Regions from separate parts of the Homo sapiens genome. Here region 2 is linked to region 1. Evidence: promoter capture Hi-C in 16 types of primary human blood cells and fetal thymus (Javierre and others, 2016). All regions are on one chromosome and are shown on one strand. The core of a region is centred on a gene start or on the middle of the fragment in contact, and the rest is flanking DNA. Distances in the headings are between cores, read along the strand shown.

What was found. Contacts are between HindIII fragments. The CHiCAGO score rates a contact against its expected background, and 5 or more counts as called.
Region 2: a contact is called between a fragment that was not itself captured here and the fragment with the promoter of LINC02909 in region 1, in 2 of 17 cell types (total B cells and naive B cells). The highest score is 9.0, in total B cells.

What each region holds. Positions count from the first base shown.
Region 1 is chr12:24,994,172-25,000,010 of GRCh38, reverse strand. It overlaps LINC02909 (long intergenic non-protein coding RNA 2909), which reads left to right and starts at 2,546. Exons shown (of 4, transcript NR_171024.1): 1 at 2,546-2,779; 2 at 3,672-3,814; 3 at 3,944-4,204; 4 at 5,684-5,839. It also overlaps a transcript of IRAG2 not described here. RefSeq lists enhancers at 1,498-1,607, 1,858-1,987. The HindIII fragment of the contact is 1,157 bases long and covers 1,792-2,948 here.
Region 2 is chr12:25,053,194-25,059,206 of GRCh38, reverse strand. All of the region lies in intron 1 of IRAG2 (inositol 1,4,5-triphosphate receptor associated 2), which reads right to left. Among named protein-coding and RNA genes, the nearest start is that of IRAG2, 3.5 kb to the right of the region's middle. The HindIII fragment of the contact is 3,947 bases long and covers 1-3,398 here.

The DNA.
Region 1 (5,839 bases), core at 1,297-3,796:
CAAGTAAGCCACTAGAGCTATTAGGTTAAATTTAGGAAGCCCAATAAAATTTTAATCTCAGATAAACAATGACTAATTTTTTAGTGTAAGTATGCCCCCAAATGTTGCACAGGACATAGTTATACTGGAAAATTATTTGTTGTTTATTTGAAATTCAAATTTCACTGGCTGTCTTGTATTTTTTTTTTTTTTAGCTAAATCTGACAACCTGAAAAATGTCAAATAAATAATTACATAGTCAGGAGCCATGAGAACCTATAATAGGAAATTATCCCAGCTTGGGAGTGAGGCTAGGAAAAATTTAGGAGCATCTATTATGTGGCTATTATATGCACTGCACAGAATGTTATACATATTGTTTGCTATTTCTAGGGTTATAAACAGAAAATTAAGAAGTGGAACTATAAATCTGTTAGAGGAATTTCCACTTGGATTCATGTGAGCTAAATGTAATGTAAAATGATGTTAGAGATTATCGATACTGCTTATGTTGCTAATCTTTTTTATTCCTCCTATTGATTGAACTATGCTTCATTGCTCTGGCTTATAGATTCTGAGTCCCATTATTATTATTGCCTCAATTATCTTGTTCCATACAGTCAAAGCTCTTGAATCAACACTTTTCAACCATCTGCCCGATCCAAAACTATAAAGCAACAAGTAAAATCCTCTAACACATGGCAACATCTGTAAAACAAGTCCGATTTGATTCTTACCTAAAGTTATTCGTTATATATTTGATTTTCACCACCAGTGTAACTGCAGACTTCAACATCAACCTCTAAGACATCCATACTCTTTGGGACTTATAGAAATCTACATTTGTTCTGACTTCAATGAGTTAATCTACTACGTATGTACAATGTAGACAATATTTCTTATTCTTTAGGAATGTATATGTAAACAACATGACATAATTTGTGTTTATCAACATCTATATTATTCAATCACTAAGAAAGTTGCATTTTATTGCAAAGAATGGCATATGATGTATACAGAGGTACAAAAGCAGCATCCTGGAAAAAGCTGGCAGATTTCAGGGTGATTCAAAAGGCTCTGTAGAAATCTTTCTGAATCAAATTCTAACTCCAAACAGATTAACAATGTAATTATCTTTCCTGTTTTTTTCCTTTAAAATGTTTTCCTCCCTTTACTAAAGTTATTTATTGAGCATTGAACTTCCAAACCTTAGATCAGGCAGGCTGATTTTTAAAATCATTCAAAACTTGATTAGGAAAGCCAGTCAATCATTCATGATTCATCTATGTGAGATCCTATTGGTAATTAATGCAAAATCCTTAATATACGTAAAAAAAAAAATTTAAGTATGTGTGTAGATAGACAAGAGATTCCTTTTGCCAAAACAACCCTTCACTAATGATTAGATGCCACTAAACTCTTCATCAAAACCTAAGAAGAAACATCTGTTCACTGAGACATTCCCAGGAAACCCATCTTTAGTGAGCTCAGTGGGAGGGCAGAGCATGGTTTTCTGCTTAACCAGTGAATTTTATATCTGCCAAATTAAACTGTTTTCATTCTCTTTGTGACTACTATTTTATGTGATAAAATAATAACACTTCTTCCTGCCGTTTCTAGGATAGATGATAGCAGCTGTTAATCACATGATTTGCAAACCACAAGTACCAGATTTAGTAAATGCTCAGCAAGTCTGTCATCCGCAACCTTTCTGATTATTAATAAATGCAAGCTGGTATAGGCTAGAAACTTTCCTCCCACAATTCAGTTAACCTTGTTATATTAAGCTTCTTGGCTGGGTCACACCAAGCTTACTATAAACATCTCTTATTGGAACAATTCCTAAAATAGCAGAGTGACACATGCTTCTGAAAACTGTTCTTCTGTCTCACTTCTTGTTATATGAAGTCTGGTTTTCTTCTCAGAGAACAAGAGAAGACCTACAATAAATCTCTAGCTTCAAGAATTCAGGTGCCTCCAAGGTTCTTACAGTCTATAAAACTACATCACTGCGTTTCACTAACACACATTCCAAACGACCAAGCCTGAAAATGGCAGGATTAATTTAAATTTCCAAAAGCTCCATTGAAAACAATTTGAGATTTGCCTGTGGTGACAGCAACATATCTGGGGAATCTCACTTTATCACTCTCAGCTACCCATCTTTTTTCCCTATTTGTAGAGTGTTTTTCTTTTCAGATTTGTTTCAAGTTTTCAATGAACTCTGTTGAACCTCTAATATAGACTTATTGGAGGTTTGTCCCTTTTGCCACAAGCATTTTGAGGTTGAGACACAACAGAACAGCCTACATCTGATATTGCTTTTCCCTGGTTAGGGCGGTACTTTCTCGGCCTTCGATGACTAAAGGCCAGCATCAGCCAAAATTTAATTATTTCGTTGGGGAAAACTCACCACCTTATTTTCGCTTGACTTCGCCAGTGCTCCAAGAACCATCTGAGAACTGGGAAGAAAGAGTGGAGACCTACAGGTCAGATGACATGGGTGGAGCCCATTTCTACAGAGTGGCTTGGGCTGAGGTAAAAGAAGCTAGAGAAGAGAGCCGCTGATGCACTGCACCTGCCTAGGCTGGAGTTAAGGTACTAATCACAGCAGCAGTGCTGGGAAAGATGCCTAGGAAGGATGAGGATGACAGGCACTATTTTGGTGTGCTCCCCACCACAGCAATAACAGAAAGATAGTCCAGGTGCAGTGTCTTTCACCTGTAATCCCAGCACTTTGGGAGGCTGAGGTGGGAGGATCGCTTGAGCCCAGGAGTTCAAGACCAGCCTGGGCAACATGGTGAGACCCCCCCCCACCCCCGGTCCCCGCCCGGCTCTACAAAAAACAACACACTAAAGCTCATCCTGATTATACTTTCTAATCAGATGAAGGAAAATTATTTTTAAGTTAAATCTCATACTTTTTCTTTTGTTTTTTGGAAATGGAGTGTTGCTTTGTTGCCCAAGCTTGAGTGCAGTGGCACGATCTCAGCTCACTTCAATCTCTGCCTACTGGGCTCAAGCCACTCCCCCACCTCAGCCTGCCAAGTAACTGAAATGACAGGGGCATGCCACCACAGCCAGCTAATTTTTGTATCTTTTGTAGAGATGGGGTTTTGTTGTGTTGCCCAGGCTGGTCTCAAACTCCTGAGCTCAAGCGATCTACCTGCCTCAGTCTCCCAAGGTGCTGGGATTACAGGTGTGAGCCATTGCGCTCAGCCTGGTCATTATCATTTCTATCACCAGGTGAGAGCAAAGGGGAGTCAAATACTGGGGAATAAGAACTGGGGCTCTGAGTTTAAATAACCTGAGTTCAAACCCCAGTTCTGCTGCTTACTAGCTTTGTGATCTTGGACAAATTATTTAACCATATGTGCTTCAGTTTCTTCATCTGTAAAATTGCATCAATATCATGCAATGACCTCCGGGTGTGCTGCAGGGATTAAATGAGGTTAATACGCAGATGGCCCTCAGAACCATGTAGCACATTCTGAGCTCTCAGTAATGTTGTTATGATGCACTTTCTGAAACTCCTTTAACTTATCCAATACTAGAGGTCCTCTTAAAGCACCAAATAGCACCTAGAAAGAAATGACCAAGTAACCCGCTCCTCTCATTAGATTTGCTGTTTAATTTCCCATGAAATAACCTATTATAACATCCATGCTTGCGATCTGCTTATCAATCCACAGATACCGAAACTGGCAACACCCAGAGACATTTCCCTCCTAGTCATAAAGGAAGCCAGCAGCAGAGCCAGAAATAATATTCAAATTCTGGATCCACTAGACCATATTGCCCGTCTGACAAATTATACGCTTACATCCTGCTTCAGGTGAGTCTAGTATACCTGATGTTTCTCAGAGCAGTGAAAGGAATAACCTGAACAATAAATTCCAACGAACCTGTAATGAATTGCATTAACATGTTATTTCATTATTTATGTAATATTACCTCCTGACAGTTCTAATAAGGTACCCACAATGCCGGGTTCTCTACCCACTGGGAGCAAACAAGGGAACGTGCAGACGCTGGACAGCATACGATGGATGCCTGCAACTCCTGTACCTGCCCCCGAATGCCACCAGAAATATGCCATCTCTACTGAAACAGCTTTTCCAACCCTGAGCACGTTTATGAACACGGAAAAGAGTGTAAAGGGGTCAAATGCAGACTTTACAAAAAGAAACCCAAGATGGAGATTCCTGTTCGGGATATACTGCAGGTGGGGTTCATAACAACATAGTCCTTTACTTGCCAAGTAATCTGAAAGCAACTAATTAGAGAACCTGTAAGGGATGCCAATCCCAGTTTTCAAAATGGCATTTCAAGGAAATTAAATCTTATCATGTAAATAGGTCAAGAAATCCGTTTAAATAACGTATCTGCTTCTCTCTAGGTAATCTACAATGTTGTTAGACTATCAAGCCAGTAGTTTTAAATATGTGTTGGAGCTCCAGGATTAATCCCTGGTTGATCTGAGGGAGTCACTTTGTCTAACCAAATACAAATGAGGTGGGAGGTGTATGGTTGAGAGGCACTATTAGAAGAAAGGGGCCAGGTGCAGTGGCTCATGCCTGTAATCCCAGGACTTTGAGAGGCCCAGGCAGGTGGATTGTTTGATCCCATGAGTTTGAGACCAACCTGGGCAACATAGAGAAACCCTATCTCTACCAAAAATACAAAATTAGCCAGGCAGGGTGGCGCATGCCTATAAACTCAGCTACTCAGGAGGCTGAGGCAGGAGAATCACTTGAATCCAGAAGGTGGAGGTTGCAGTGAGCCAAGCCATTGCACACCAGTCTGGGCAAAGAGTGAAACTCTGTCTCAAATAAAATAAAATAAAATAAAATAAAATAGTAAATCTGCTGACCTTCCCTCCACTATTGTCCTGTGACCCTGCCAAATCCCCCTCTGCGAGAAACACCCAAGAATGATCAATAAAAAATAAAAATAAAAAATAAATAAATAAATAAAATAAAATAGTAAAAAATAAATTAGCCAGGCATGGTGGCACGCACCTGTAGTCCCGCTGCTTGGGAGGCTGAAGTGGGAGGATCAAGCTTGAGTCTGGGAAGTCGAGGCTGCAGTTAGCCAGTAGAGATTGCACCACTGCACTCCAGCCTGGGTGACAGAGCAACACCCTGTCTCAAAAACAACAATAATAAAAACAAACAAAGGAAAGAAAAGAAGAAAACCAGATAATGGACTCCTTCTCCAGTACATGCATGGCCAAACATAACTTTTATTTTTCAAAACCCACTCTATGTAAAATGCACTATTTATTTCTCATAATATACTCTTTAATGTGCTTATATTCTAGGTATCATTGCCTTTAAGTTGCTTTTTTAAATGAAGTATCATTATTATTATTATTTGAGACAGATTCTGGCTCTGTTGCTCAAGCTGGAGTGCAGTGGTGTGATCTTGGCTCACTGCAACCTCTGCCTCCCTGGTTCAGGCAATTCTCATGCCTCAGCCTCCCAAGTAAGTGGGACTACAGGCGTGCGCCAACATGCCCAGCTAATTTTTGTATTTTTAGTAGAGACAGAATTTCACTATGTTGTCCAGGCTGGTCTCTAACTCCTCAAGTGATCTGCCTGCCTCGGCCTCCCAAAGTGCCTGTGCCCAGCCTTTTAATTGGACTTTAATGTGCAAATGCAGTCTCTTCAGAAAGCCTTTTTTTCTTCTTTTTTTAAATCAGCCTACATCATGCTATGACAATTTTCATATAAAGATGCTGTCTCGGAAAGAAAAGGATTGGGAGTTTGAATGATCTATGGCTTCCATTCCAAAAAGGATTACTACAGAAGTAATTACTTTGAAAGAAAAGTGATAATATGTTTTTGGAGAAAGGTGG
Region 2 (6,013 bases), core at 176-2,675, 60 kb before region 1:
GCAACCAAAGCAATAAGAAGTGGCCATCGTGTGTTTCTGAAGGTCGTGTATCTCCAAAATACAAATTCAGAATACTATCTTACAATTGCCAATGAAGCCGTGTTTCAGAAGCGATGATGAGCTAGTATAAGATTGTCTAAATTGCCCATCTGCTTGCTCACCAGGCAATCTTGGGTTTTAGAAACAGTCTATCTTGAAGCATTCAAATTGAAAGCCTTATTTCAACAGATGTTTTGTGCAATGCATAGCAACTATTTCCATATTTTCCACATGGCAAAACAAGTTGGCTTATGACCACAATTTGCATTCACCTTTGCATTCTGCTTTACATGTTTGGAGTTGGACCTGTAATGCCTCTAGAACAAATATATGCTTCATATAGAAGGAAGTAAAACAATGGCTACTGTATCCCCTGCTGTTGCCATCTGCCATGTAGGATGGGACCAGGTGTCTTGGATACATTGCCTCTGAAGAAAGTTGAGATAAAGCAACTTTCTAAATGACTAAGCAATGAGGTCTCAGGCAAAGGCCCCACAATTAATTGCCTGTTGAAAATGAAAATTATAACATTATTAGAGCCGTTATCATGTTAGCTATCAATGATGGATGACATTTATAGAGTACGGGGCTTGTATAATACTATCTATACTGGAAAAAACCTCATGTTCTGTAAAATTGTATATTAAAAATATCAGGGTTCATTAAAGAACCCCAGACTAAGATCAACTATTCATAGCACATATCTGTCAAAGGACTTATATCCAAGAATAAAAGGACAGAAAACTTAATTTTAAAATGGGTGAAAGACTTAGACACTTCACAAAGAAGATATACAATGGCCAATCAGCACAAGAAAAAGGTCCCAACATCATTACATCTGAAAAATATATATTAAAATCACAATGAAATACCCATTTAGTAGAGTGGCTAAAATGACAAAGATTAACACTACCAAATACTGAAGATGTGGAACACTAAAACCACCCACACTGCTGGTGGGAGCGTGAAATGCTATAAAAACTACCGAAAACCATTTGACAGTTTCTTAAAAAGTGACAGTCACAGCTATGCTATGTCCTAACAGTTCTACTCCTAGATATTTATTCTAGGTGAAATAAAAACATATGTGCACACAAAGACTTGTACACAGACGTTCATAGCAGCTTTGTCCGTCGTAACCCCAAACTGCATATACTGCAGATATCCAATAACAGCAGGAAAAACAATCAAATTTTGGAATATTCATACAAGGAAATACAACTCAATAATAAAAAACTACTACTAAGAAACACAACATAATCCCATCATGCTGACAGAAAAAAGACAAACACACAAAAAAGTACATACTGTGTAACTGAGTTCTAGAACAGGCTAAGCTAACCTATCAGACCAGTGGTTGTTCCTTAGGGTGCTAGAGGTGGAGGCGGGGCATTGACTGGGAAGTTGCACAAGGGAAGTTTCTGGGGTGATAGAAATTCCGTGTTTTGATGTGTATTTATCTACCTGGTTGAATAGTATACTCGAGATCTGAACATTTTATGACATGTTAAATACATTAATAAAAAAGAAGTTAAAAGTATAAGAACAAAATAATGCAGGGATTATGAGAGAAATAGGGTTAAGAAGAAACCACTAAAAAAATACATGCAGCTGGGCAGAGTGGCTCATGCCTGTAATCCCAAAACTTTGGGAGGCTGAGGCAGGAGGATTGCTTGAGCCCAGGAGTTTGAGACCAGCCTAGGCAACACTGCAAGATCCTACCTCTACAAAAAATTTAAAAATTAGCCAGGCATAGTGGTGCTCGCCTATAGTCCTAGCTACTCAGGAGGCTGAGGCAGGAGGATCACTTGAGCCCAGGAGGTTGAGGCTACAGTGAGCCATGATCCCACCACCATAGTCCAGCCTGGGTGACAGAATGAGATCCTGTCTCAAAAAAAAAAAAAAAAAAAAAAAATCTGTCTACCTGTCTACCTACCTACCTACCTATCTGTATGTATGTGCAACACTGTAACCAGAGTACTAACAAACACACTTATTATTAGTACTAAGAAGATCACATGCATCACTCAGACATGCAACTTTAAATGCCTCACAGGATATTAGAAATACACAAAAACAAGAGAGTGGAAATGCTGGTGATGCTTTCACTAGAACAGTGGTGGTGGGGTGAAAGGCAAATGTAGATAGAGGCAGCGAGGCTAACAAGGTGAACACAGGAGGGAGTATGATTGGACACAGACCAGGGCTCTACAAGGCTGGGGTAGAGCCCTATAAAGTCCAGAGCCCTGTAGAACCCAGAGTGACTCTGGGGAGGGAGGCCCAGGTGCAGACACTTATTTTAATTTTCTCAAAATAAAGCTGAAAGGGTTCCTGTTGCCTGTTCAGCAGCCAAGCTAAGGACTTTTTCCTTTCCTGAGGAAGGTGAGAGTTCTATTCCTACCAATCCAGATCCAAGTGCCAAGAAAATCGTGAATGAAACAACATAATTTCTATACTATATAACCACAGCATTTCCCCATTTACAAATCACAAATGAGATGATTCATGTTATAGAAACGTATTCTAGCAGAACACAAATATCAACTGTGGCCAAGCATTAGCTACTATTTTGCATTTATTATGTTATTTATGTAATTCACAACAACTGCATTTAACCAAAGAGGATACTGAAGCTCAGAGAGGCAATGTGATTTGCTCAACTTTACCCAGCCACTCTTCTGTGGACTTTGAGTGAGAACACAGGTTTGTTAATTTCAAATCCCATGTTCTTAATCATTATACTATACTTCCCAGATTACTTCTCCATATCTGCATTTTTCATTTGGGAAAACTTGGGTCCCTATCCTATCAGAGTTGTTGAGCAAGCTGTATTTGGCTTTGGTTTTCTCCTTGGCCGTCACCCCAAAACCTTCTATCTTTAAGTATCTCAATCACCTGGATCCCTTCACCCGCCTTCTTTGGCTCATTTCCCTCCTGTTTACTGACTGCTTAGGACACGGCTTTCATCTTGAATCCATGCTCCAAGCCCTAAGGGTTTTACCTCTGCCATACCTCCCGCCCTCCATGCTAAGAATAGCAAGCTAAAAGAGTGTTTGCAGTGATATTATCTAGGTGAAAGTCTCCTCTAAACTAGGAAGTTCATGTGCAGATACTACGTTCAAATAAGAAATTATGCTATATCAGAGTTTCCCAGGATCTCTTTTCAAGGAAAAATTTGTGATTCTTAAAGGTAATTCTCTCATTGTCTATGAGAAGACTGACTCCATGAAGATTTCACGTCAGATGGGAACAAGAGATGGTGAATAGTAAGGGGGTGATAGTTTTGGATTGTATCAATTAGTCCATGATTTCTGTACATAAGATTCACCCTAATATGTTATATACACATCCTATAAGCTTTTAAAAATTTCCTTTTTAGATGAGTTCATGTCCTTTGTAGCGACATGGATGAAGCTGGAAACCATCATTCTGAGCAAACTATCGCAAGGACAGAAAACCAAACTCTGCATATTCTCACTCACAGGTGGGAATTGAACAATGAGAACACTTGGACACAGGACGGGGAACATCACACACTGGGGCCTGTCATGGGGTGGGGATAGGAGAGGTGTAGCATTAGGAGAAATACCTAATGTAAATGACGAGTTAATGGGTGCAGCACACCAACATGGTACATGTATACATATATAACAAACCTGCACGTTGTACACATGTACCCTAGAACATAAGTATAATAAAAAAAATTTCCTTTTTAAAGCAAACACTAATTATAATCCAGTCATGTGTCTATTAACAAGATACTTGGATATAAACAAAGTTTAGATGCAGAAGAAATAAAATATATAAGTAACCATTCAAGCAATTGAACAGTTTTCATGGCACATTTCTTGAAGAATATCATGCACATGAATTGCCTCATAAATCAGCCCAGTCCTGAAGGCAATTGAAAACTTGAACAATATCATTTATTCAAGATAAAGTTCAGGATTTCTGATCAAACATCACATATAAATTTCCAGTTGTAGTGTGAACATTATGCACATTGATCTGAACATTTGGACAAACCAGCTGCATCCCCACACAATGTGCTGATGCAACTTAGATGGATCAGAAAACAATTGTCTGAAATACTTTGTGAATTTATTAAACTAGCCAGAGAGTTTCAGAAAAGCTAAATAGATATAAATATGTTTTGTTTTCTGACTCAGAATCAGATGTCTGACTCAGAAATCAAACAGCATGGGGTGGCAGTGGTCATGGCGGGATGTGCGTGGACGTGTTTGTGTGATAACTGCAGTCATTGACATTTGTTTGCAGTCTATCTGGAACATCTGCTATATAGAACATTTTGAAAATACGTGCTATCTAAATTTCCCTCTTCTCTCAAAGATTGAATTTAAAGGGCATTGTTAGAAAGATCGTAAGTACATGGTCATATAAGCAAAATCCTGATTTGTATGGGTTTTTTGGGCAGCAAAAGATACAAGTAACAAGTAAGGGATTTCATAAATCTGGACAGGTTATGCATAACTCAAGACAGAAAGGAAGTGTCCACTCTACGTTATCCAGGCAGAAAAAAATACACGTATCAACCCAGGGCAGCTTTCATATTCTGCTTTTAAGTGTATTTGAATCTATTGGGCCGTGAAGATAAACTGGGAAGACAACAATAGCAAGTTCATAATATCAAGAACGTGCACTTTGGGGTAAGTTATTAAAGTTGACTCTTCTAAGAAAATACTGCAAGAAAATCACAGTGAGGAAGGGGAACAAATTCTTAGTAGTTTATAAAACTCAGGTATAATATTGATTTAATCAAAAGGCAAAACTGGAGCAAAAGAATAGTCCTGGGCACAGTGTCTAAAGCAGACACACCTTAAACCAACTTTGGAATGCCTTATGATTCATGTCTCAACATGAACAGTTCTAATCACAAGGGAACCTTCTCCAATGCCCTCTGAGCAGTAGTAAAATAACACACAGACTGTGTAATTTAAAGACTGCCTTACTAGCTTAACAGAGTGAATCAGAATATTGAAAACTGGCAAATTCAATAAAGGTTTAAAAATTATGACAATAATATGTTGAATAACCACTGCTATTTTAATGTTTTATTTATTTATTTGTTTGTAATTTTTGTAGAGACAGGGTTTCACCATGTTGTCCAGGCTGGTCTCAAACTCCTGGGCTCAAGCAATCTGCCCACCTCGGCCTCCCAAAATGCTGGGATTACAGGGGTGAGCCACTGTGTCCGGCAAACCATTGCTATTTTAAAACTAGACTATTTCTTAAACTCCTAAATAGCTTTCTCAGATAATAGTAGAAAGGGTACAATAAATCCAAAACAAACACAAGTCTGAAATTTTTCATCTCTAGCCTACCTTAAGCTTATATATTAAATATATAATTATTTATAATTATATAACAATTAACAAATAAACAATGTTTATTTCTCAAACCAAGTAACTTTCTATAAAAAGAATATTTATACTGCTAGAACAAGAAACTGGCTGAACAAAAGCAATTGTCTGATAAATGGCTAAATAAGTAAGGTTTATTTTTACCATATTAGGTTTCTAGAATGAAACAATTTTATAGCTAATCTGACATCTGTAATGTGACAACTGTCTTCTCACATAAATCTCTGGTAACTGTTTATATACTTTTGGGTAATACAGAAAAATGACAAATATTCCAATTTTTAAAATGCAAAATATGTATGTAGATGTATGTAGAGAATGCATTAAAACTTTAAAAGAATTTTCACACATTTGATATTTTGATATACACTGAATTCATAATTATTTTGCCCAACCCCCTAAAATTTCCAAAGAAAATAGACGAGCAAGGCCTTTTCTACCATATGAGAGGAAAAAAACTAGCTAATAAAATCAGAGTATAATATATAACAACTTGCAAGTTCAAATATACCATGCATACTAGATTTTTCTCCTTGTTTACTTTTAGAAATTTTGAGAAGTTTTAATTAATTTTAAAAGAAAAAAACAGCCAC